Linked DNA regions of Homo sapiens: regions 2, 3, 4, 5, 6 and 7 are each linked to region 1. The links are contacts of gene promoters, found by promoter capture Hi-C in blood cells and fetal thymus (Javierre and others, 2016). All regions are on one chromosome and are shown on one strand. Each heading gives the region's core, a stretch centred on a gene start or on the middle of the fragment in contact. The rest is flanking DNA. Distances are from core to core; before and after follow the strand shown.

Region 1 (2,700 bases), core at 19-2,518:
GATGTGGAGAGGTGAGAACTTTTATACACTGCTGTTAGGTATGTAAAATGGTACAACTACTTTGGAGAACAATTTAGTAATAGCAAGTGTAGTTGAAAAAGCATATATTGTAAAATCTAGTAATTCCACTCCTAGATGTATACCCTGGAGAATGTGTCCTACATATGCTCAAGGAATCATATACATTATTTATAAGAGGAACAATTTGGGAACAATTTAAATGAACAAACATAGGAACATAGATAAATTGTAGCATAACCATACTGTAGAACACTATAGAGCTATAAAAATAGAATTGAATGCATCAACATAGTTGAATATCATAAACATAAATTTTATCCAGAAAACATTCTGGCTAAGAGTACATACAGTAAGGTCGGGTTTGGTGGCTCTTGCCTGTAATCTCAGCACTTTGGGAGGCCAAAGTGGGAGGATTGCTTGAGGCCAGGAGGAGTTTAAGACCAGCTTGGCTAACATAGTGAGATCCCATCTCTTAAAAAAAAGGAAGGGGGAAAAAAAAAACGAGTACACACAGTAAGATGCCTTTTATACAAAATTGTAAAGCATGACAATGCTATAGATTATTTGGAGAAGCATACATATGCAGTTCATGTATAAAGAGATTTACAGAGGCTGGGTGCAGTGGCTCACGCCTGTAATCCCAGCACTTTCGGAGACAGAGACGGGCTGACCATCTGAGGTCAGGAGTTTAAGACTAGCCTGGCCAATATGGTGAAATCTTGTCTCCACTAAAAATACAAAAAATTAGCCAGGCATGGTGGCTCATGCCTGTAATCCCAGCTACTGTGGAGGCTGAGGCAGGAATCTCTTGAACTCCTGAGGTGGAGGTTTCAGTGAGCCGAGATTGTGCCACTGCACGCCAGCCTGGGGCGACAGAGCAAGACTTTGTCTCAAAAACCAGCAAACAGGCTGGGCGCGGTGGCTTACGCCTGTAATCCCAGCACTTTGGGAGGCCGAGGCAGGCGGTTCACGAGGTCAGGAGATCGAGAGGCTAACATGGTGAAACCCCGTCTCTACTGAAAATACAAAAAAAAAAAAATTAGCCAGGCGTGGTGGCGAGCGCCTGTAGTCCCAGCTACTCAGGAGGCTGAGGCAGGAGAATGGCGTGAACCCAGAAGGCAGAGCTTGCAGTGAGCCAAGATCGCGCCACTGCACTCCAGCCTGGGCGACGTTGCGAGACTCCGTCTCAAAAAAAAAAAAAAAAAAAAGTTTTGCGGGTTTTTCCCCCCGCCCCTTTGCCCCCTCCCCCCGCCTTTATTCAGCTTCCGGTAGACGCTGGTAGGGTAAGGGAGCTAAGTAGATCACTTCCGGGCGACTGTTGTTTTATTTCCGGTTTATGCGACCCGGCTGCGATTTGCTGCTGAGGGCAGCAGCTACCGTCACTGCCGCCATCATGTCAGACTCGGACAGCGAGGAAGATTCATCTGGAGGTGGCCCATTTACTTTAGCGGGTATCCTTTTCGGCAACATCAGTGGAGCGGGGCAGCTGGAGGGGGAAAGCGTCTTGGATGATGAGTGTAAGAAGCACTTGGCAGGCTTGGGGGCTTTGGGGCTGGGCAGCCTAATCACTGAACTCACGGCAAATGAAGAATTGACTGGGACTGGCGGTGCCTTGGTAAATGATGAAGGGTGGATTAGGAGTACAGAAGATGCTGTAGACTATTCAGACATCAATGAGGTGGCAGAAGATGAAAGCCAAAGACACCAGCAGACGATGGGGAGCTTGCAGCCCCTTTACCACTCGGATTATGATGAAGATGACTATGATGCTGATTGTGAAGACATTGATTGCAAGTTGATGCCTCCTCCACCTCCACCCCCGGGACCAATGAAGAAGGATAAGGACCAAGATGCTATTACCTGTGTGTCTGAAAGTGGAGAAGACATCATCTTGCCCTCCATCATTGCCCCTTCCTTTTTGGCCTCAGAGAAAGTGGATTTCAGTAGTTACTCTGATTCAGAATCTGAGATGGGACCTCAGGAAGCAACACAGGCAGAATCTGAGGATGGAAAGCTGACCCTTCCATTGGCTGGGATTATGCAGCATGATGCCACCAAGCTGTTGCCAAGTGTCACCGAACTTTTTCCAGAATTTCGACCTGGAAAAGTGTTACGCTTCCTACATCTTTTTGGACCAGGGAAGAATGTCCCATCTGTTTGGCGGAGTGCTCGGAGAAAGAGGAAGAAGCATCGTGAGCTGATACAGGAAGAGCAGATCCAGGAGGTGGAATGCTCAGTAGAATCAGAAGTCAGCCAGAAGTCTTTGTGGAACTATGACTATGCTCCACCACCACCCCCAGAGCAGTGTCTCGCTGATGATGAAATCACGATGATGGTTCCTGTGGAGTCCAAATTTTCCCAATCAACTGGAGATGTAGATAAAGTGACAGATACCAAACCAAGAGTGGCTGAGTGGCGTTATGGGCCTGCCCGACTGTGGTATGATATGCTGGGTGTCTCCGAAGATGGCAGTGGGTTTGACTATGGCTTCAAACTGAGAAAGACACAACATGAACCTGTGATAAAATCTAGAATGATGGAGGAATTTAGGAAACTTGAGGAAAGCAATGGCACTGATCTTCTGGCTGACGAAAACTTCCTGATGGTGACACAGCTGCATTGGGAGGATTCTATCATCTGGGATGGGGAGGATATCAAACACAAAGGGACAAAACCTCA
Region 2 (2,700 bases), core at 123-2,622, 310 kb after region 1:
TTATGAACATTATTGCTGATCTTGTAAATGCCCCTCATCTAGAATATTGCTGCAGGAAATTCAATCACCTACCAGCTGTTTCTAGGGCTTCCTAGAAATCCTTATTCCATCCTTGCAGGTGCACAGCTTTTGTTGCTTCTGCCCTTCCTCTCGCCCTCTCTATATCCCTTCCCTATGCTACTCCGGCCTTCCTGGTCTGCTTCTCCTAGAGCTATGAATACGCAGGCTTCCCCCAACCTACCCCTTTCTTTTCCCAGGCATGCTTAGTCCAGCGCTTCGTGGGCAACAGAGATGCATATGGAAAACCCATGGGGACACGCTTGCTTCACCAAATAAGGGTATTTCCCTTTTCCTTGGAAAAAAGAATGAACAAATGATGGTTGTTAAGTAAACATTACTAAAATCTGTGCCCTTTCCCAGAAGTATATCGTGCATATTTATTTTAATAAGGCAAGAGAACAAATAACAGTTTCTAGAGGCAAGGGAAACAGCTGATTTACTGTCCTCCTTTTAGAACATAGCTCAAGAGACTGGGTTTTGTTTTTGTTTTTGCATAAGTAATCTTAGATCCATCCTCTATATTTCTACTGCTCCCCCTGGGCCTTTGTTATGACTTCATCATTTCCTGACTGGCTGACTGGTACTGTGTTATAACCACCCTTTCCCTCCACACTTCCATCAGAGTTGCCCTCTTATAACTCACATGTGATTATTGCACTCTACTGCTTAGAACCTGTCAATGGGTCCCACTGTCCAGATTACAGTGTCTATATTTCCCTTATAATCAGCCCTGCCTATTTCTCAGAGTATCTTTCTCCACTAATTTTTCCTCACAGTGCACCTAAGCCAGCAGTTCTCAGCTTCAACATCACCTGCCAACTTTTTAGAAAATCAGATTTGTGGGCCCACTTCAGACCTATTCAATATGAAACTCTGGGGATGAGGCCCAGTAATCTGTGCTTTAATAAACTCTCCAAGTGACTTTGATGCATGCTAAATTTGAGAGCCACTCACCAAAGTGAAGCAGGTGCAGTGTATGCAGTTTGAATTGCCCTTAATCCCCTAATGCACCTAGAATTTCCTACTCATCCTTCAAAAGTCATCACCTCTTTCATGAAGCCTTCTCTGCCTTCATCTAACAGTGTTTACCATTCCCTGCTTGGTATCTCCAGGACACTTCCATTGTGAAGTGTAAAACACTGTTTTGCAATTCTTGCAAACTTACTTGTCCATCTCCCTGACTAGACTATGAGATGCTCATGGGAAATACTCTCTAAAAGCTTGTTTTAACTTTCTCTTTCCTGTTGGTCTCTCTCTGTCTTCATGCACACATGTATACGGCTTCCATAAAGAAGACTGCAGAATAGAATAGGGAACCACTGTTTAAAGTTCATTGCCCTTTCCACCAATTGGGATCTCATTCTGGCTGCCTTTTTTCCCTTTATATCTTATTCAATAAGCTTTTATTTAATTTTAACTTTTTTGTTAGTTTTTAAACTTTAAACTTTTTTATTTCTAATTTTTATGGGTACATAGTAGATGTATATACTTATGGGGTACATGAGCTAGTTTGATACGGGCACAAAATGTGTAATAATCACACCAGGGTAAATGAAGTATTCATTATGTCAAGAATTTATTTCTTTGTGTTACAAACAATCCAGTTATATGCTTAGTTATTTTAAAATGTACAATAAATTATTGTTGATTGTAGTCATCCTGTTGTGCTGTGAAATACTAGATCTTATTCATTCTATCTAACTACATTTTTGTACCCATTAACCATCCTCACTGTCCCCCTACCCTCTACCAGCTACCCTCCCAGCCTCTGGTAACCATCATTCTGCTCTCTACCTCCATGAATTCAACTGTTTTAATTTTTAGCTCCCACAAATGAGTGAGAACATGCGAAGTTTGTCTTTCTGTCCTGGCTGCCTCTTTTTGTCTGTCATCACAAGGTGTGTAACTGACTTTGCCCCAGGTATTAAGAAACAGATACAGTCACCTCTCAAAAAAGGGGGCCAGTTATCAGAAACAGGTCAGTTCCTGGCACTATCGATGAGTAATTCTGTTTGCTTTATGACCCTGACTCTCCTTTAAAAATGAATCAGTTGAAGCTGTAGTTGATTATGCTTTCTTTTCGGTCTTAGACCTACAAAGACTTTTTACTGACTTAGTAAATAAAAGCTAAGCCACTTAAAGAAACCTTGAAGTTGTCTGTTTAGGGGCATTAGTCTGTGTTATCATCTAGGGACAAACCTGTGACTCTCTTCTCTCTGTGTTATAAGAGTTGGTTTTGGGCTAGAGAGAACTCCGTTGTGAACTCAGAAGACGAGGTGGGGGTCCCGGGAGAGTCAGGGCAGGTAAGGGAGAGACGACCCTGATTTTATCCTCCTCTAATAGTGACTCCATAGCTATACAGATATTGGATAGTGCCCTTCAGTGTTGATAACTGGGAGGGAGATTTGCTGACTCTATCTGGAAAGAGAGCAGTTGGGAAGATGTCCTGATTGGCTAGTAGGCCAAGTTCTATAATATTTCCTTTATCTAGATATCCCCAGTGGCTAGGACAGTGCCTACTATGCCGTCAATTCTAAATACATTGTGGTTGAGCTTTTACAATTATAAATTCCAGGGTTTGTGGGCACTATACTACATAAAATCATTTACCTTTTTCTTGCAGCTTGAATTGGGCCATAC
Region 3 (2,700 bases), core at 129-2,628, 310 kb before region 1:
ATACAGATGCAAAAATTCTAAATAAAGTATTAATAAAAATCAAGTTATATAATAATAATATACTGCTATAGAGTATTTTAATTATGCCCTATTCTATATATTTCAGGTGTACAGGCTGGTTCACTATCAAGACATCTATTACCGTTAGTAATGAATTATGATAATACTATAAAGGAAAAACCATATGATCCTGTCAATATACACTGGAGGAACATTTTATAAAATTTAATAGCCATTCCTAATAAAAATTCTAAGCCAATAGGGTGTGATGACTTTTCTATTAAAAACAAGTCTAAGTAACAATACAAGGAAACTACTTATCTAGGATAAGGACTGTATCTCTAAACCCAATAGCAAACATTGTTCTAAATAGCAAAACTCTGAAATCATTTCATTGAAATCAGAAATTAGAAAAGGATGTCCATGTGCTATTATTATGTTACATTGTCAAAGTAAGGTAAGAAAATAATTGCCATAAACTTTGAAGAAGACGAAATAAAACTATTTATGTTTGTCTATGTGACTTCATTGTTTGCCTAGAAAACTCGAGGGACTTTAGTAATAAACTATTTGAATTGTAGGTCATTTTGGAAAAGTGGGCAGATGCAAGATAAATATACAAAAAGCACCAACTTCTCTCCGTATTAGCAGTAAGTACTTTGAAAGGAAATTAGAAAACTATTTTATTTTCTACAGTTTTATACAAGCTTAAAATACTTAGGAGTGTAATTTAAAAAAATCTTTTAATTGTCATTTTATAGCTCCCCACCGCAGCTGCCCCCACCCTTCCCTTCGATGACGACGTTTGCAGGGTTCAGGGCGACCAGGGAACAAAGCTGGGGCCTGGCAGACCCACTATGCTGCCAGCTGGAGAAAACAAGTCACAATGACAAATTATCACAATTAGCACCTGTACTTGGGGGAAAAAATCTGCAAATTGGGGAAGCCCCAGCTCCTCATTGTACAGGGGTCTGTTTGGCAGTGACCTTGCTCTGGAGATGACATTCCTTCAGCCTGAGGGAATCGACGTTGATGAACCCGTGGCATCAATCGGCTCATAATCCCCCTGCACGTTCATGCTCACCAGCTCCTCGTTGTAGAGAGACAGTGGGGACTCCCGACCGAGGATATACACCTGGCCCTTGAGGACAGACACCTGCACTTTCCCTTCCACTCATTCCTGGGACTTGGCATTACAGTGGCGGACAAATTCACACTCAGGGCTATGCCAGAAACCGGTATACACCAGCTCAGCAAATTTCAAGCTCAGGCCTTGTTTGATTTTGCGCACTTCTCGGTACATGGTGAAGGCCTTGATGTCTAAATGAGTGTGGTGAAGGATGGTCCCTGCTGGGGCCTCGCAGATACCTCAGGACTTCATTCCAATGAAGCGGTTCTCCACGATGTCAATACGGCCCACGCCGTGCTTGCCTGCAACTTCATTCAGGTACACGAAAAGCTCCAAGGAGGTCTGGTGGGTGGTGCCATCCTTGACGTTGGTCACCTTCACGGGGACCCCTTTTTTGAACTTGATCTCGAGAATGTCAGGGGTGTTGAGGGCTTTGGCTGGGTCCTGGGTCTTCATGTAGAGACCTGGAGGCACTTGGTTCTTGGGGTTCCAGGATTCCAGCCTCATAGCTGATGTGCATGAGGTTCTCGTCTATGCTTCACGGGCTCTGGGGAGTGACTGGAATGGGAACCCGATGTTGCTTTGCCTATTTCATCAGGTCATTGCAGCCCTTGAACCGGTTGTAGAACTCGGGCATCCTCCAGGGAGCGGTGACCTTTATCTGGGGGGCCAGCAAATAGCAGGTGAGCTCAAACCGGACCTGATCATTTCCTTTTCCCGTGGTGCCGTGGAACACATACTTGGCCTCCTCCTGCTTGGCGATTTCCACTTGTTTGCCGGCGATGCCGGGCCTGGCCAGAGAGGTGCCCAGGAGGTAGCGGTTCTCATACAGTGCGCTGGACTGGATGGCCGGCCAGATGAACTCCTCCACAAACTCCCTGCTGGCATCCTCAATGAACACCTTTTTGGTCCCAAGCTTCAGTGCCTTCTTCCAGGCTTCCTCGAAGTCTTCCTTCTGGCCAGTGTTGGCCAGGTAGGCAATGATGTCATAGCCTTGTTCCTTCAGCCACACGAGGATGCAAGAGGTGTCCGGGCTGCCACTGTAGGCCAGAACCACTGAGCCTTTGCTGGACATAGCATCTGGGATTGGAGGCTCGAGTTCCTGGCATCTGCCATCTGTCTTCATGGTACGGTGAACCACTCGGGCTCAGGGAGCGGTGGCAGGCGACAGAGCAGGGAGTATAATTTCAAAATACCAAACCATCCACAAAAACCCAGAGAATAGTACCCATAACCAGCTTCAACAATCGTCAATATTCTGCCCTTCTTGTTTCATCCTGCCTCTCCACCTTACCTACTGTAGTACTACTTTAAAGCAAATTTCAGAAATCAAAATAGTTTCACCTTGACAGTAAAATTAATAAGATATAAGACCTATTTAAAGTTATAAAAGCTCAATTAAAATTATAAATGTTATCTGAACAAATGGAAAGACATCTCATGTTCTTTAATGACTTGGAAACATAAAATCTATTTAAAGATTTTTAAAAATTTATTTATTTATTTATTTTCAGAGACAGGGTCTTGCTCTGTTGCCCAGGCTGGAGTGCAGTGGCAGGAGCATAGCTGTA
Region 4 (2,700 bases), core at 187-2,686, 330 kb before region 1:
GTCAAAATACAAAACATACACGATTGACTGGGAGGCTGTTTGGCTGAGAGGTGAAATAGACTCTAAAGTTGGCTGGAAGCTGGGCGCGATGGCTCACGCCTATAATCCCAGCACTTTGGGAGGCTGAGGCTGGCGGATCATTTGAGGTCAGGAGTTCGAGAACAGCCTAGCCCCTAGCCAACATGGCAAAACCCTGTCTCCACCAAAAATACAAAAATTAGCCAGGTGTGGTGGCACGCGCCTGTAATCCCAGCTACTTGGCTGGCTGAGGCACGAGAATCGCTTCAACCCAGGAGGCAGAGATTGCTGTGAGCTGAGATCGTGCCATTGCACTCCAGCCTGGGTGACAGATCAAGACTGTGTCTCAACAAACAAACCCCAAAAAACATTCTTTCTATTAAAAAAAATAATAAGTTGGCTAGAGCCAAGGTTGAAGCCTGATTCTGGCAATCATGAAATGGGTCTTGGGGCATGTCAATGCATGGTAGGCATTGAAAATATGCTGGCAAATTTTCTTAATTTGACCCCAAGTTAGTGACTGTTGTTCACATCACAAGAATACCTGGGAGTAGCACTGGTAGCAGACACTTCTTTTGGGCATATTCTTCAAAAATGGCATCATTTTTACATCGACAATTGCTAAGTCGCTGGTGGTCAAATATTAGAGGAAGCACTGTCAAAGCAGGACGGTCAATATACAGAGAAGGTAAAGGGCTGTGTCTGCATTTTCCATGGGCCAGCTTCCCCGCAAACCTCCTTTTGATAGAAGAACCTAGCTTCATCTGTCTTCCATCTCTTCCAAGCCTTCTGTCTTTTAAGCAGGCAGAATAAAAGCTCCAATGCCAAAGAGTACAAGAATATTAAAATTGAAAAGGACTTTATGTACCAGGGGTCCTGACATTTTGAGGGAGTCATAGATCCAAAATTTGGTGAAGATGATAGCCCCTTTCCCATATGTTTTGCATGTAATTTCAAGGGAAGCACCCCAAAAATCAATAATCCATGGATTTTCTAGGGCAGGTCTTCTCAGCTGGTGTGCGTGTGTGTGTGTGTGTGTGTGTGTGTGTGTGTGTGTGTGTGTGTGTGTGTATCCCCTAGATTCTAATTATTTTGAACCAACTGGCAGTCCTTTTTTCCAAACTACACACAGAAAGTCACTCTGCTACCACTGGGCATCTAATCTCTCTGGTGCTTTGGGGCAAAGTTTAATCTCTTGCCTGGAGAATCTATCAGAACTCTTTATTCTAGTAGCCTCTGATGTTCCATTGAGGGATTTGAAACATAGAAGTGACTTATAATATCAGCAACCAACTTATGTCCTAATTAAACATCAAGAGTGCTTGCATTCCCAAATTCATGCTGGGAGAGAATATACTAAAACGTTAATTAGCGGTCCTCTCTTGGTGGTAAGAATGTGGATAATTTAAATTGTGTTATATTGTTGTGCACGCTTCTAAATTAGCTACAGTGAATACATATTTGGGAGTGTGAAAAAAGCCTCAAATTTTATTTTTAAAAAGTGATAGGTCACAAAGGAATGTAATCAACATTCAATTATTTATATTAATAGCTGATACAACAAAAAGTGGCTAATTTTTTTTTTTTTTTTACAAATAATGCCAGTTCCATTCGAGTGTTCTGTGGCCCTCCAGAGACAGGCATCCTGCAAGGCCAGATTTCAAGACCAAATTTGCTTGAGTCTGAGAATGACACACGTGAAGGTAATTCATTTGATCTGATGGATCTGATATTCCTAACACTAGATCTAGAAAAATAGTGGCTTTTTCTCTGTTTGCCCCTAACCTCAATGTCTGCGAGACACCAACTACATTTTAGTTATTCAAAATTGCTGTCCATAGCAACTTTCTGTTTGTACTTACAAATGCCTTTCACCACCCATTGAGATCCCATGATTTCCCTTGTAAATTATGTTGATATGAAATGTTACATTTGGTTTCCAAATACTGAACCACCTTGAATTCTGGGGGTGAATCCTCTTGGTTCCCTAGGGCTTCTCTTTCAGTATTGACTTTGACTCTGAAACATTCGTGATGGGATGGGTTTGGGGAATAAGATTTATAGATTGATTTATGTATTTGGCCTGGTCCCCAGATTTTAACAAAAGTATCAGGAAAAGGGGAAGAAAAGATGGAAAATGAGAAGAATGGTTAGAATTTTGGCTTGTTGGATCAGTTCCCAGAACATCCTTTGTGTTAGAGAAATCAAGTAATGGGAGAAGTGGAAAGAAAACAAAAAAGTTAGTGAAGCTAAACCAATCTACATAGTGAAGACAGAAGGGGGTGAAGGACTGAAAAAGATAGGTGAATATTTGGGGCAGACTTTGAGGCATCTGGGAAGTGGGAGCTTTGGAGGGCTCTGGGAGATTTGGGGAAAAGAAGGGGATTTGAAGAAGGGTTGGTCTCTCTGGGTATAAATGAGTCCCTTTTAATATATTTTTGAGAGACAAACAAAGATTATATACTTGATTAATTTTTTTTTCTTTTTTTGGTAGAGACAGGGTCTCACCATGTTGCCCAGGCTGATCTTGAACTCCTGGCCTCAAGGGATCCTCCCATCAGCCTTCCAAAGTGTTGGGATTATAGGCATAAGCCACTGCACCTGGCCTTTTTGGCCACATTTTGACTTCTGTTGTTCCTATTCCAATTTCTCATTTCTTGCATTTTGTATTTCTTCTTTTTT
Region 5 (2,700 bases), core at 17-2,516, 350 kb before region 1:
TGATCATGAGCAGGCCAGGGGTTCTGGAATAGGGAAACTTGTGGGGATTAATTGAAGCTGCCTCATAGGGATCTTGGCAATAGCTAAGGGAGTATGTACGCTGTTGGACATTTTATGGAAGGATTTAAACCTTTAGAAATTGGTAGGATTTGGAGCTCCAGCCACCTGCAATAACAGGTGATTGCTAATAGGCCTTTAAGGAAACACCACCTGTTCAGCTGCCGCCTGTAGTGAAGCTTGTTTTCTTTAGGGAAGATAGGAGCAAGTGCCTGGTTCTTTGTTGCATTTGTGTTTAACTTTTTCCAATCTCTTTCAGTACAGTTGAAAGCAGAGTGTAACAAGGGATATGTCAAGGTAAAGCAGGTAGGTGTATTTATAACTTGGAATTTTATACTCGATGATTTTCTTATGCTGTTGACTTTAGAGTGTCTGTGCCAGCCAGTGAAGGCTTCTCTGTCATGTATGGAAGTGATGGAGTAATATAGGTGAACATAAGGCAAGGTGCTTGGCATATAGTAAGTGGTTAACATAGCAGTGGCTATCTTACTGTAGGTGCTGTTGCTATTATTATAATTATTTTCTGATTGTTTATTCCATAGGTAGGAGTCAATCCCACCAGCATTGACTCAGTCGTAATTGGGAAGGACCAAGAGGTGAAGCTGCAGCCTGGCCAGGTTCTCCACATGGTGAATGAACTTTATCCATATATTGTAGAGTTTGAGGAAGAGGCAAAGAACCCTGGCCTGGAAACACACAGGAAGAGAAAGAGATCAGGCAACAGTGATTCTATAGAAAGGGATGCTGCTCAGGAAGCTGAGGCTGGGACAGGGCTGGAACCTGGGAGCAACTCTGGCCAATGCTCTGTGCCCCTAAAGAAGGGAAAAGATGCACCTATCAAAAAGGTGAGGGTAGTGTGATTGGTAGATGATGTGGAGAAGAAATGAAATATAATGACTGCTTAATTGTTTTGTACACTTTAAAGTTCAGAAATGCGTGAGGGGTTATTAACCATGATGAAAGAGTCACTTGTTTGTGGCGTGAAAATCATTTGGATGAATGTTCCTTTATGTGCTTTTTTCTTAAATTCCTGAGGTAAGCCACCTGAAGGTACAACAATAATGGCAGTGTGTACTTAACATTGAACAACTAAAGTGGATCAGTTGTTTATGCATCTATAGAAGGTTTTCATAGATCATGTAATTCATATGCTGATGTCAAAGTGGAGAATTGGTCAGGCTGTAGCTGCAGTGAGAGAGGGCAAAGAAGGTATGACTCATACTCTGGCATTTCTCGCCTTCATTTAGAACAGCCAGCTGTGAATATAGGAAGGCTGGCTGGGTGCAGTGGTTCACGCCTGTAATCTCAGCGCTTTGGGAGGCCGAGGTGGGCAGATCACTTGAGGGTCAGGAGTTTGAGACCTGCCTGGCAAACATTGTGAAACTCCATGTCTACTAAAAATACAAAAATTAGCTGGGCCTGGTGGTACACACATGCTTGTAATCCCAGCTACTCGGGAGGCTGAGGCGGGAGGATTGCTTGAACCTGGAAGGCGGAGGTTGCAGTGAGCTGAGATTGCACCACTGCACTCCAGCCTGGGCGACAGAGCGAGACTCCATCTCAAAAAACAACAACAATAATAAAAAACAGCTGGGTGTGCTGGCTCACGCCTGTAATCCCAGCACTTTGGGAGGCCGAGATGGGCAGATCACCTGAGGTCAGGAGTTCGAGACCAGCCTGACCAACATGGCAAAACCTAATCTCTACTAAAAATACAAAATTAGCTGGGCGTGGTGGTGCATGCCTATAATCCCAGCAACTCCAGAGGCTGGGCAGGAGCATCGCTTGAACCCGGGAGGCAGAGGTTGCAGTGAGCCGAGATCACGCCATTGTACTCCAGCCTGGGCAACAAGAGCGAAACCCCATCTCAAAAAAAAAAAGAAAGAATATAGGGTCGGGTGTGGTGGCTCACGCCTGTAATCCCAGCACTTGGGGAGGTGGAGGCCAGTGGATCACCTGAGGTGAGGAGTTCAAGACCAGCATGGCCAACCTGGTGAAACTCCGTCTCTACTAAAAAATACAAAAGTTAGCTGGGCGTGGTGGTGGGCACCTGTAATCCCAGCTACTTGGGAGGCTGAGGCAGGAGAATCACTTCGGAGGTTGCAGTGATCACGCCGCTGCACTCCAGCTTGGGTGAGACAGAGTGAGACTTTGTCTCAAAAAAAAAGAGAATATAGGAAGGCAATGGAGTGAAGCAGAGTCAAGTGAATCTTGTTTAATTCTCAAAAACTAAGCTTATTTCCAAGTTTAGTTGTGCTATCACACAGTATTAACTGTTGCCAAATTTAATTATTGGCATTTGTAATTTACATTGCTTGTTTTTTTTTTTTTTTGTTTTTTTTTTTGTTTTTTTTTTAGGAATCCCTGGGCCACTGGAGTCAAGGCTTGAAGATTTCTATGCAGGACCCCAAAATGCAGGTCAGAATACAATTTTGGAATTTCAGTACATTTCATGTTGTAAATGACCACTCCACAGAGGTCTTAATTACAAATGAAATCAAAGGATATCAGTCTTTCTGAATGAGATTCATTTTATTGGGCTGTTCTGTGAGAACAAGAGGCTTTTCACATTGGCAATAAAGTAGCAGCTGTCATTGTTTGGAGAGAAAGCTGAGTTCTTCAAATGAATATCCCCTCTGCCTT
Region 6 (2,700 bases), core at 91-2,590, 290 kb after region 1:
AAAAAATGTACAAAATGGCCAGGCACGGTGGCTCATGCCTGTAATCACAGCACTTGGGGAGGCCGAGGCGGGCGGATCACGAGGTCAGGAGATCAAGACCATCCTGGCCAACATGGTGAAACCTCATTTCTCCTAAAAATACACACAAAAAATTAGCCAGGTGTAGTGGCGGGCACCTGTAGTCCCAGCTACCCAGGAGGCTGAAGCAGGAGAATTGCTTGAACCTGGGAGGCAGAGGCTGCAGTGAGCCGAGATCACGCCATTACACTCCAGCCTGGGCGACAGAGCAAGACTCCGTCTCAAAAAAAAAATGTACAAAATATTATTAATATAGTAGTTTTTATTAAGTAAAAATACCAGTTACAAATTCATTCTCATAATCTAAAACACACAACACGCACGCATTGGGAAAGGAGGAATTGCACTAAAATCTTAACAGTGATTACTTTGGGAAAGTGAATCAGCACTACTTTATTTTTTTTCCTATGCTTGTCTGTATTTCGACAGTGAGCATAAGCCAATTTTGTAGTAAGAAACACATTATTCTTTAAAAAGCTGAAAGAGTCAGTCCCAGCAAGGTCTATCTTCTGTCCTCTTTCCCAAACCTCCCAAAATGTAGATGCAACAAGATTCAACATCAGTTATTGTTCTCACCCCTCTGTAAATGTAGATTTATTCTAGGTGGGGGCTTTGATAGTCATCCTACTGGTGCCTTCCTGCCCAGAGAGGAGTGCTTGCATTCTGGGTGAAAGGCCAAAGGAAGTTATTTTATCCTGGTTTGTCACTATGCTTTAAGAAGGCACCTGACGTTTATAACAAAAGACTTTATCTGCTCGTAAGTGTGCTGAATAAAGGAGCCAGAATTTCAGGCACACCTGGATCTGTCATGACTTTACAATATCTGCAATAGGAAGCTTAATTATTTGGATGGCCGTCTTTTTGCATATGGTTTATTAATCTGTGGGCATCGTCGTAAAAATGATGATGCATTTTTTAGCTGAGGCAACCAGAGGCTGGCTTAGTGGAGCAGCTGGTCTAGACTGGAAAGAGTCCCTCTCCAACTGGGTATGCATATGAACCACCTGCGGGTAGCTGGGAGTGCCTGAAAGCAAGCATTTATCAGTGGAGCGGTGCTTTCCCTGGGCTCTGTTTGGAAACAGGAAATGTCATGTTGTGTTTCCATTGCCTCTCTGCTAGAATCCAATGATCAGCATTGTAGGATGTACTGGGATCTGGGTAGTTTCTGGTGGTGATAATGGTTTTAAGGAGCAGGAATGAAGATGGGGTTTGAGAAGGAGGAGGGTAGTGATGGGGTATCCAGTTAGGTTGCCGCAGTCCGGTTGGAAATTGACAGAAACAAAGAAAGAACTTAGATGTCAGTGCCTGTGAATTGCTGTCCATATCAACTTAAGCACTACCTCATATTTTGATCTGCTTTGGCACATTTAGATTTGGGGCAGGGATTTAGCCTTGTCCATGTTGCCAGAGGCTGTGTATGTAATAGAGGCATCACATGCAGTGACAGGTTTGCAGAAAAAGCAACCTTCACTGATACGAGAGATCAAACGAGAGCATTTCCATTGAAAAGTGCAGCACTGGTTTTCTTCCCCTCCACCCCACCGCCCTCAGTGGTAACACTGCTACTCAGAGGCATGTTCAGTGGCTGTCCAAGTGTGGACAATACCTGTGATGCCGATGGATGTTGGACCTAATGTCCCAGGTATCCCGGTTCTTAGGTGGAGAGGCAGCCTGTGGGAGGAAGCTTCCTGAGCAGGGGGCCTCCAGGACTGGGATGCAGAATGCTGACTATTTCCTGAATACAGAGCTTGAATGCAGGCTCCCCAGGTTGTTCCAGCCTTGGGCAAGACTCTGATCCTTTGTCAGAAAGTGAAACTGAAAGCTAAAGCGCAGGGGTTATTCACACCCTTTATTCTTCATTCTTCTGGCTATTGCCAGCTCATCTGAAGGCTTCCAGAAGGCAGAAGGCAGATGAGGGAGGAGAGGAAAGTCGGTGCGTGATTTCCCCTCCTTTTTTGTTAGTGACTCTGTTAAAAGGTATTGTGGTGAAGAAACTAAAAGTAGGAATAAAAAATGTTTAATAATTTGGGGTTTCAAATGATCTTTCTACTTACATTTCTTCTATGACTTATTGCCCTTACCAGTGAACCCCTTTGGATATGTGAGGGACAGGGCCTTTTGCATTGAGTTATATATTTGGTGTGGGAAATTTGAATTAATCTGTTTTCATGTTCAATTAGATTGATGAGCAGTATGGCCACTCAATGTTATTCCATCTTGACTGTTGCTGAGGCCCTTTAAATGTGTCATGAGTTAATTGATTGATAAATCCACATAAAACATTCTGTGTGCCTGCTATGCACCAAACCTGGAGCAGAGATTCAGGTGACCCAGCCAAGTGCAGTTCTGCTTTCATGGAATTTAATCTAATTATAGGGACAGAAAATTAAGCAAACAATTAGGATACAATGTAGTAAGTGCTCTGCTAAGGAAAGTCCCACGTAGAGCACGTAGCAGGGTCCTTGATAGGATCAAGGAAGATATTCTGGAGAAACTGACTTGTGAATCAAGACCTGAAGATAACGTGAAGGTAACAAAGAGAAAGGAGAGACTCGTGTTCCAAGTAGGGGGACCAGCCTGAGCAACACCCCATAATCCCCTTCTACTGTGCATATCTATTTA
Region 7 (2,700 bases), core at 46-2,545, 280 kb before region 1:
TGTATAGTATTCCATGATGTATATGTACCACATTTTTCTTTTATCCAGTCGACTGTAGGTGGGCACCTAGTTTGATTTTATGTCTTTGCTATTCTGTATAGTGCGGCAATGAATATATGAGTGCATGTGTCTTTTTGGTGGAATGACTTATATTCCTTTGGGTATATAACCAGTAATGGGATTGCTGGGTTGAATGGAAATTCTGTTTTCTCTTCTTTGAGAAATCCCCAAACTGTTTTTCACAGTGGCTGAACTAGTTTACATTCCCACCACCAGTGGATAAGCAGTCCCTTTTTTCCAAAATCTTGCCAACATCTGTTATTAACAAAACCAATTTTACCATAGGCTAATTGATATAAACAAGAGTCAAGTTCCTATGACATATTTCTGGTCACAGAAACATCACCAAACTTCTAAATAAAGACTCCAAACACTTTTAATATTACACATTGAAATATGAAAGTGGACCGTACATATACTTAAGAAAAATTAGCCGGCCAGGTGTGGTGGCTCACGCCTGTAATCCCAGCACTTTGGGAGGCCGAGGTGGGTGGATCACAGGGTCAGGAGTTCGAGACCAGCCTGGCCAACATGGTGAAACCCTGTCTCTACTAAAAATACAAAAATTAGCTGGGCGTAGTGGCAGCACCTCTAATCCCAGCTACTCGGGAGCCTGAGGCAGGAGAATCGTTGGAACCCGGGATGCGGCAGTTGCAGTGAGCTGAGATTGCGCCACTGCTCTCCAGCCTGGGTGACAGAGCAAGACTCCATCTCAAAAAAAAAAAAAAAAAAAAAAAGAAAAAAAAAAGAAAAATTAATGAAAGCAAGTCAGATAACTACCCGCTTATTCCAGTTCAGGGTGCAGGTGGCCAGAGCCTCTCCCTGCAGCTCTGAGTGCCAGGTGGGAAGCAACCCTGGAGTTCGACATCCCATCGCAAGGCAAACTCACAAGCACCCACGCTGACTCACACTGGGACCAGTTAGACACCCGATTTACCTAACGTGTACAGCTTTGGGATGTGGGAGAAAGCCAGAGTACCCTACGAAAACCCACGCAGACATGGGGAGAGGCGGGCAGATCACCTGAGGTCAGGAGTTCGAGATCAGCCTGGGCAACATGGTAAAACCCCATCTCTACTAAAAATACAAAAATTAGACCGGGTGTAGTGGCTCATGCCTGTAGTCCCAGCACTTTGGGAGGCCAAGGTGGGTGTATCGCTTGAGGTCAGGAGCTCGTGACCAGCCTGGCCAACATGGTGAAACCCCGTCTCTACTAAAAATACAAAAAAAAAAAAAAAATAGCTGGGCGTGGTGGCGGGCCCCTGTAATCCCAGCTACTAGGGAGGCTGAGGTAAGAGACTCACTTGAACCGGGGAGGTGGAGGTTGCAGTGAGCCGAGATTGCGCCATTGCACTCCAGCCTGGCGACGGAGAGAAACTCCATCTCAAAAAAAAAAAAAAAAAAAAAAAATTAGCCAGATGAGGTGGCATATACCTGTAGTCCCAGCTACTTGAGAGGCTGAGGTAGGAGAATCACTTGAACCTGGGAGGCAGAGGTTGCAATGAACTAAGATTGCACCACTGCACTCCAGCCTGGGTGACAGAGCGAGACTCCCGTCTCCAAAAACAAAAAGAAAAGAAAAATTTTTTTGAAATAGCTTAATCAGATATTTAAAATTATAGAATTATAAAAGAGATTATAGGCCATGATTACACTGTGCCCAAATGTTGTTGTTGGAAAATCAGTTTCTTGTGACACGACCAGGATAATTTAGGCACATGGACACGTTGTAGGGTGTGTAGGGCAGGGTTCATTGGGTGAAAAGGAAGAAAAAAAGGGAAACAGGGACTCTCAGCAAAGTGAGAATCCTGCTAGATTGAATCCCCAGTTACCACATGGGAACAGGAGCGGCCAGGCTCCTCCCCCTGCAAACCGCTCAAACTTCCTGAGGCCCCACCCCGTCCTCCCAGTGCACAGGTGGGTTGGAGATTCTCCAGGGAGCCCTTTTTACTTGGCTCTCTCAATATCCTATAAACTCCATGAGAAGTGTTGCACCAGTATTCTCCTTATGTAAAGAAAGCAAAGACTGATATGGGAGGTATCCTCTACCACAAATACTAAAACTTTTTTTTTGTTTTTAAATAATTTTAGATTTACAGAAGAGTTGTAGAGATGGTACAGAGTTTTCATATACCCTTCACCCAGCTTCACCTTATGTTAACATCTTATGTAACGATGGTACATTGTCAAAACTGGGATATAATATCATCAACTAACATACAGAACATATTCATATTTTACCAGTTTTTCCACTAATGTCTTTTCTTTGTTCCAGGATCCAATCCAGTATACCATGTTGCATTTAGCCATAAAAGTTTTTAATTAGGAGAACAAAAGGAATATCAGCTGTTAGGTCGCAGAGAATATTTGTCAGTGGATGCGTAGGGATGTTGGTCAGAGCGAGTTTAAAAATCCTCTTTTTGACACTGGTGTCCGATGCAGTTCTTCCCAACTGTGAGAATGCCTTTTTTGGCATGATGTGGGCTGTCCAAGGAGCCCCAAGTTATTGAAGACTGGGAAGGGCTTGATTCACCCAAATGGTTCCTCTCCCGTTATTGAAATTCTTCTCACGTATCAATCTGTTTTTTTTTTTTTACATTTGCACAAGGCATCTATAGCATGAGTCACAGTAAGAAACTC

What was found. Contacts are between HindIII fragments. The CHiCAGO score rates a contact against its expected background, and 5 or more counts as called.
Region 2: a fragment that was not itself captured here is called in contact with the fragment with the promoter of TAF1L in region 1 in 1 of 17 cell types (activated CD4 T cells); the score reaches 5.2 in activated CD4 T cells.
Region 3: a contact is called between a fragment that was not itself captured here and the fragment with the promoter of TAF1L in region 1, in 1 of 17 cell types (M1 macrophages). The highest score is 5.2, in M1 macrophages.
Region 4: a fragment that was not itself captured here is called in contact with the fragment with the promoter of TAF1L in region 1 in 2 of 17 cell types (M2 macrophages and M1 macrophages); the score reaches 8.5 in M2 macrophages.
Region 5: a fragment that was not itself captured here is called in contact with the fragment with the promoter of TAF1L in region 1 in 1 of 17 cell types (M2 macrophages); the score reaches 6.4 in M2 macrophages.
Region 6: a fragment that was not itself captured here is called in contact with the fragment with the promoter of TAF1L in region 1 in 1 of 17 cell types (neutrophils); the score reaches 6.8 in neutrophils.
Region 7: a fragment that was not itself captured here is called in contact with the fragment with the promoter of TAF1L in region 1 in 1 of 17 cell types (M2 macrophages); the score reaches 5.5 in M2 macrophages.

Annotation. Positions count from the first base shown.
Region 1 is chr9:32,634,237-32,636,936 of GRCh38, reverse strand. It overlaps TAF1L (TATA-box binding protein associated factor 1 like), which reads left to right and starts at 1,268. Exons shown (of 1, transcript NM_153809.2): 1 at 1,268-2,700. The coding sequence starts at 1,358. The HindIII fragment of the contact is 7,933 bases long and covers 1-2,700 here.
Region 2 is chr9:32,320,386-32,323,085 of GRCh38, reverse strand. The region is part of intron 1 of LOC107987059 (a long non-coding RNA gene); the gene reads left to right. Among named protein-coding and RNA genes, the nearest start is that of ACO1, 63 kb to the left of the region's middle. The HindIII fragment of the contact is 180 bases long and covers 1,283-1,462 here.
Region 3 is chr9:32,945,500-32,948,199 of GRCh38, reverse strand. It overlaps the pseudogene ASS1P12. Among named protein-coding and RNA genes, the nearest start is that of APTX, 55 kb to the left of the region's middle. The HindIII fragment of the contact is 1,338 bases long and covers 710-2,047 here.
Region 4 is chr9:32,965,697-32,968,396 of GRCh38, reverse strand. No RefSeq gene overlaps it. Among named protein-coding and RNA genes, the nearest start is that of APTX, 35 kb to the left of the region's middle. The HindIII fragment of the contact is 4,510 bases long and covers 1-2,700 here.
Region 5 is chr9:32,985,746-32,988,445 of GRCh38, reverse strand. It overlaps APTX (aprataxin), which reads left to right. Exons shown (of 8, transcript NM_001195248.2): 3 at 317-363; 4 at 600-902; 5 at 2,416-2,475. Among named protein-coding and RNA genes, the nearest start is that of APTX, 15 kb to the left of the region's middle. The HindIII fragment of the contact is 2,055 bases long and covers 239-2,293 here.
Region 6 is chr9:32,343,855-32,346,554 of GRCh38, reverse strand. All of the region lies in intron 1 of LOC107987059 (a long non-coding RNA gene), which reads left to right. Among named protein-coding and RNA genes, the nearest start is that of ACO1, 39 kb to the left of the region's middle. RefSeq lists an enhancer at 1,750-2,044. The HindIII fragment of the contact is 848 bases long and covers 917-1,764 here.
Region 7 is chr9:32,918,058-32,920,757 of GRCh38, reverse strand. No RefSeq gene overlaps it. Among named protein-coding and RNA genes, the nearest start is that of APTX, 82 kb to the left of the region's middle. The HindIII fragment of the contact is 8,648 bases long and covers 1-2,700 here.